2 separate regions of the Homo sapiens genome follow, and region 1 is linked to region 2. Evidence: promoter capture Hi-C in human tissues and cell types (Jung and others, 2019). All regions are on one chromosome and are shown on one strand. The core of a region is centred on a gene start or on the middle of the fragment in contact, and the rest is flanking DNA. Distances in the headings are between cores, read along the strand shown. Region 1 has its middle 41 kb from the start of HCRTR2. Region 2 holds the start of HCRTR2 (hypocretin receptor 2).

Region 1 (3,261 bases), core at 359-2,858, 41 kb before region 2:
GGTAGCAAGTAGGTTTTAGCCTTGATTAACTGCTATAGACTGTCTGAAGTGCAGTAGCGAGAAGGATTCTAAAGATGTCTGGGCAAAGTGGAAAAGAATGTAGTTATTGATTATCTATATGTGCCAGGGGCACAAGAAAAAGGAATATTGACACACTATGCATGCCAATCCTGGAGTACGTTAACAGCATTAGATGTTACACAATTAGCCTCAAGAACAGAGAAACAGATGGAATGTGGTGCATTAAAGTTAAATGTTTTTTGGGAGACATAGATTATAAACAGTTATTCAAAGATGAGCTACCCCAGTAGGACATACGTTTCAGATTGAGGTCAGCTCTTAAGCTTAAGGGAAAGAAGACATGGTTAGGGAGCAAAGGAATGGGACAGTGGAGCCCTACTCAGACCAACTCCATTTATACCTCTCCCTCTCTCTCTCTCTTTTTTTTTTTTTTTCGCTGAAAATTATAAAGAGAAACAAACAAACAAAGTGTTTGAAAGTGGTATTGCTTTATGTTTAGATGGGGTTGATCTTCATGAATCATTCTTTGGGGAAAATAATCAACCAAACAGTTTTTTACATAGACACCAGAGACCCATGATGACCACAGCTTTTAAGTTACAGAAGACTTTTCAAAACCAATAGAGGATAAACTAGTGTTTTGTGCAGTTATATTCAAACAATCCTTAAAAACTGGGATAGCTGATAATCTCAAAGTAAGATCCCTGAAATGCTGATATCCACTGTGCAACATTAGTCTTAGCTTGGTAAGATAACAAGGTTGATTTAATCGTTAATTGATACAATATGTTTGTGTTGAATACAAAATCAAATTACCACCAATAAGTAAAATGGTAGGACTTATTTTTAGAGTAAATTTTTTTTACCTCGGTACAGTCTAGCAAGCCTGACATTTCCTGTCTCCTATGTCTTCTTTGCTCTTGTTTTCAGTCCTTTCTCTCATACATTTTTATGCATGCAAAATTGAAGCTAACAGACATATTCTTCCCCCTTGCTTTGTTTCCATAAATGTATGTGTGTGAGAGAGAGATCATATACACATACACACACACAAAAAAACACACACACACACACATCAAGGCATTTCTAAAATTCAGAAGGGGTATGCATCAAGTTAGGAATAACAAATGTCCAAAGTAAAATTATGATATCCATTTCAAAGCTTTCTTCAATTGCTGCATAGTGATCTGAAAGTCAGGAATAACTTATTGATGACCTCACTAACATCAATTTTCATGCCAGTATGGATATCTGTTGGCAATGAAACATTGTACGTTCTAAGAACGAAGACATAGCTATATATCTACATGTATTTATCTATCTATCTATCATCTATCTATCTATCTATCTATCTATCTATCTATCTATCTATATCTCCATCTAGGCATGTTTGTCTGTCTTGGTATTCTTTTAAGCTCAAACATAGCTTTTTATATTAGGAATAAATCTACTACTTGGTTACCTTTAATATTTCTTTCTTAAATAATTTAATAATTTTAGCAGAAGTGAACCTATATGGCTGTTTTTCTTTTATAAAAAATTTCTTGATTTCATTCTATTGCCATAACATAGTATAAAAAGTGGTTATTACAAACAGTTTTTCTTATACAGCAAGTGAGAATATTTATCATTTAGTTAACTGGTCAAATGTCACTTAGTAAATGAAATTGTCCTAATGAAAATTCACACATCTTAGGAACATATACATTTCTTATTTCTTTTCTTTTTTCTTTGATTCCCCCACTTCTTACGTACCTCTTCATTTCTCCACCAAAATTGTGGCAAAACAAACTAAGCACATTTTATTTCTATGGTTATCTAGTGAATTTCATAAGTTGGGTGATAGTCCTTTTAAGTTGAGGAGACTGATTATTCTGTTTTTGTTTGTTTGTTTGTTTGTTTTTTGCTTCAACTCACTCTAAAATTTTCTATCAAAATCTTTTCAAGCAAAACAGAACACAGTATGATAAAGAAATTTATATTTGTCATTATTTATTTTTCCAGGTTTATTGAGATATAATTGGCAAAAAATTTATAATATGATAACTGGATGCCCATATATATAGTTATATGATTAAAATTACATTAATTAACGCATGCATCATCTCACATAGGTACCATTTGTGTGTGTGTGTGTGTATGTATAGTGAGAGCATAAGATTTACCCTCATAGCAAATTTCAAGTATATAGTACAATATTATTAATTATAGTCACTATGCTATATATTAGATCCCCAGATCTTATTCATCTTATAACTGAGAGTGTGTATCTTTTGACCAACATCTCCCCATTTTCTCCACTGCCCTCCCTCTCCCAGACCCTGGTAACTACACATTTTATTCTCTTTCTATGGGATCAACTTTTTAAGACTCCACATACAGGCGACATCATACAGTATTTGTCTTGCTGTGTCTGGCTTATTTCATTTAGCATAATGTCCTCCAGGTTCATCCATGTCATTGCAAATGGCAGGATTTCCTTCTTTTTTGTGACTGAATAATATTTCATTCTCTCTCTCTTTCTCTGTGTGTATATGAAATATTTTCTTCTTTATTCATTTGTCAGCACTTAGGTTATTTCCATACTTTGGCAATTATTAATAATACTGTGATGAACATGGAGTGCAGATATTTCTTCTGAAATCTATATCCTTGGAAGGAAAAATAAAAACCAAGTCTTCTATTTACTTCAACAAGGATGAAGAAAGCTTCGCTAGTAGCAAAGAATGTGGTGGAAAGCCCAGAGTAATGAAGCAGTGGAAAGATGAGGAATTAATGAAATGGCAACAGAAAGTGAATGGTAAAGACTCTACTGTAAAAAATATTTGTCCAAATTTGGCCATTAATTGGGTTTGGAACAAGGAAATATACAGGATTAAAAATGACTTTGAGGTCTCATGCTAGAGTATCCAGCAAAACACTTAGACTTTTGTTGTAAATAAGGAGAAAAAGATAATTTTGTAGAGAGATTTCAGTTTAGATAAAACCCATAATTAGTTCACCTAAATGTGGTCTCCCATGAAAAGAAACACAAATCTAAGGCCGGAAGATTCAGGACTCTTAAAGACCTCTAGCTAATCAGAATATCGTAAAACCTCTATAATATCACTACTCATCTGTTATGGTTTAAATGTATTCCTGAAAGTTGCCCAAAAACCCATTTATCTCTCCTCTCACAAACTCCTCCATATTTTAGAGCAATCAGTTGCTTCAGTTTGTGTTAGTTGGAGTTTGGAATTT
Region 2 (3,258 bases), core at 127-2,626:
TGTGAAGCATTGTCATGTGGAAGATTTATTCTGTGTAGCACCAAGATGCAAACTAGGAATTAGAGGTAAAAGTCTCAAAAAGACAAATCGTGGCTTGAGACCTTGGTTTAATGTAAGAAACAGTTTTCTCACCCTTAGAGCACTCCCATAAGGATGGAAGTAGTGAATTGTGGTGGTCACATTCAAGCTAGATGGGGACATGTCAGCAATGTTATCAGGAGGCTTCTACTCTGAAGCTGAAGTTCAGACAAGATTTCCAGGCTCTTCCCAAGTGCAAGATTGTAATTACTTAAATGCAATATTTTTACCATGTTTATTAAGAATAAAAGGATCATGAATTCACATTCTGACAAATGCTAGAATACTTATTATTAGAGACAAAACCAGTGCATGAGAGAATGGCAGGTGACATCAGCCCTGAATCAATGGGAAGAAAGACCCAATGGGATGTGGTATTTACCAGAGAGAGCACTTCTGCTTAGATTGCTACATCCTACAGTGAATGTTTAATATCATTGAGTATATTGGTGGTCTGTCATGCTTGACAACATTAACTATGATCATATTTATGACACTTGGCGTCCTTCAAGAATTTGTAGCTCTATTTCACATGACACTTAACTATCGCAAATACAAATTCCAGCTAAATAGACCCTTCAGTTTAAAAACAGTCTCATTCTCAAATTTTAAGGAGAAAGTGAAGACGGAGATGTCTTAAAGACTCGGCAAGTACTAAGTTGGCAAATGTCAAATGTTAAAATAAGTTTATATTAAATGTTAAAGTGTTTGCCTGGAATGACTTTTCCATTGTCCTGCTTGAGAAACACAGAGGCACCTCCTTATTGCTTTTATATTTGCTTTACAAAGACAAATGTATCAACATGCTCTGTATTAATTGTATGTTGACATTTTTGTCATATCCACAGACTGATGCATGTCTGTGCATGGTTTATAATAAGTGCACGTAAAAATAGAGAAAATAAGTAGAAAAAGAGAGAGATTTAACTCTCACCCCCCACCCCCCAAAAAAACAGATTAAATTAGTTTTCATTACTTTTTTTTTTTTCTTCAGCTTCAGCTCTCCCTCAGCGAGGGAGGAGGCTGTGGGCTGCGGACTGAGTGCTGGAATGAGGAGTAATTGAGCTTCAGCTGAGCCGGACGTAGCTTTCTCCTCCTGGTGTCATTGCTGCAGCCTCCAGTGCCGGGTCCCTAGTTCCTCAGCTGCCTATCTTCCCGGTGCAACATCGCCTGTAAAGACAGCAAAGCCACCGCAGAAGTTGCCCGGCAGAAGACTCCGGAGGCATTGGCTCAGTAACTTTTCACGTCATTTTCTGCTCGGGAGCCCCTTCTAGCCTCTCCGCGCAGCCTTTCCCACCGCAAATCACCAGTGCTCATGGGGCAGGCGGAGAGGAGCTTGCAGCATTGAGCGGAACCGGACTTGAGCCCGTGATGTCCGGCACCAAATTGGAGGACTCCCCCCCTTGTCGCAACTGGTCATCTGCTTCGGAGCTGAATGAAACTCAAGAGCCCTTTTTAAACCCCACCGACTATGACGACGAGGAATTCCTGCGGTACCTGTGGAGGGAATACCTGCACCCGAAAGAATATGAGTGGGTCCTGATCGCCGGGTACATCATCGTGTTCGTCGTGGCTCTCATTGGGAACGTCCTGGGTGAGTCTCCTCCCGGGCAGCCCTCCTAGGGGCTATCACCCCCTCTCCGCCCCGGGCTGAGAAGGCTCTAAAGAGACCCCTCCCTCCCCCGGGAAGCAAACAAAGAGGTCGCTGCTCTCGGATGGGGTTTTCTAATAAAATAATAATAATAATAGAAAGTTTTCTGATTTTCCGAACCGGGACCGAGCCCTGGAAAGGTTATTCCCTGTTTTGCAGGAATAACGGGGAAACCGCGTTTCTTTTTCGAGCACCTAGATTACAAGCGCAGGGAGAGGGGCCGCGGCAGGGATCTCCAGGTGGATTTTGTTGAGTGTGTGTGTGTGTGGGTGGGTAGGTGGGGGAGTCAGTCATCCCTTTGTGTAACGTGGCTGGGTGTTTCAGGGGGGTTGGGACGAGACAGAGCTTGCAGAATACAAAGCTACATCCCTAAGGAGCAAGCTCTCTGTGGCTGTGGAAGTCACAAAGCATTTGTGAGCTAGGTGGCATTGCCCTTTGGCGAGGAGGTTTAGTCTCCAGTCAAGAGGTGGTAATGAACCAGCAGGGAGTGGAGACGGAGGCAAAGCAGGGAAGTGCACTCACTCATAGAAGCTGAATTAAACAGGATCCATGCCTGGAGCAAGAAGGAGGGGCATCGGAGAAAAGTACCACAGAGATCTCAATCATCCATCCATCCATTCATTCTTACATCCATTCAGCCAAATATTTTTTTTTTTCAGTCTGCTTGTTGCCAGGCTCAGGAATTATTCATGTCAACTGTTTGTTGTTGTTTTGTTTTGTTTTGTTTTCTCCAAAGATGAGACTAAGCTTAATGCTAGGCTATTTGTCCCGGTCTAGGTCTGTATGCAAACACGGGTTTCCTCGACCCCTCATCCCCCTCCCCCTAAACAATTTCTGAGGGTTGGGGAGGGGGTGAGATGGCAACATGGTGAGTGCGATGATGGAATGTATTAGGGCAGTTGGGGAATATACCTCCAGAAAAGGGGCTTTGGAAGGGAGGGATAACTTGAAATAAATTGTGAATGGAAGGAGAGTGTACCTTGATGAATGAAGAGTAGAAGGCTGGGAGACTTTTCACATGCAGAGGGCAGTGTGGAGGAAGTCTCTGCTGAAAATGACAGGAGATGGAGGAGGCTAGGAGTTGCTCTTGATTTTCATTTATAAAAGAAGAAGAAGGTGAGTGAGGTGAGATAGGCTGGGAGGCTTTGCAGTCAAAAGCAAAGAACTTGTAGCTGCAATGGGGACTGACAAGGAAATTATCAGGCTTTCAGACTAACCTGATTTTTGCCTTCTCTCCCAAGTGTGTTGGTCTGGGTAGAAATCATCCCGAGTAGTCTCTCACCAACTCAGCAGGCAGAATAGATGATAGTATGTGAATGACAGGAGTTCTCCAGAGTGTTGGTAGAATGTTATTTGAGGAGACAAGAAACCTCTGAGAACTTTAGTACATTTTTAAATATTATTTTTAGACTGTTTTCCTTTGGTTGATTTAAAAGTAAAAATAAAGGAAATCTTTTTGGGATACTAACAAAATGAAACAAAAGTGGAAATACACAAGATTAGGATTCTTGTTATAAGCATAATTCTGT

Evidence for each region. Contacts are between HindIII fragments. The study calls those that stand out against the background at their distance.
Region 1: a contact is called between a fragment that was not itself captured here and the fragment with the promoter of HCRTR2 in region 2, in 4 of the 25 tissues and cell types used here (H1 embryonic stem cells, adrenal gland, heart right ventricle and 1 more).

Annotation. Positions count from the first base shown.
Region 1 is chr6:55,132,312-55,135,572 of GRCh38, forward strand. It overlaps a transcript of HCRTR2 not described here. Among named protein-coding and RNA genes, the nearest start is that of HCRTR2, 41 kb to the right of the region's middle. The HindIII fragment of the contact is 3,256 bases long and covers 1-3,236 here.
Region 2 is chr6:55,173,139-55,176,396 of GRCh38, forward strand. It overlaps HCRTR2 (hypocretin receptor 2), which reads left to right and starts at 1,377. Exons shown (of 7, transcript NM_001384272.1): 1 at 1,377-1,672. The coding sequence starts at 1,450. The HindIII fragment of the contact is 12,053 bases long and covers 1-3,258 here.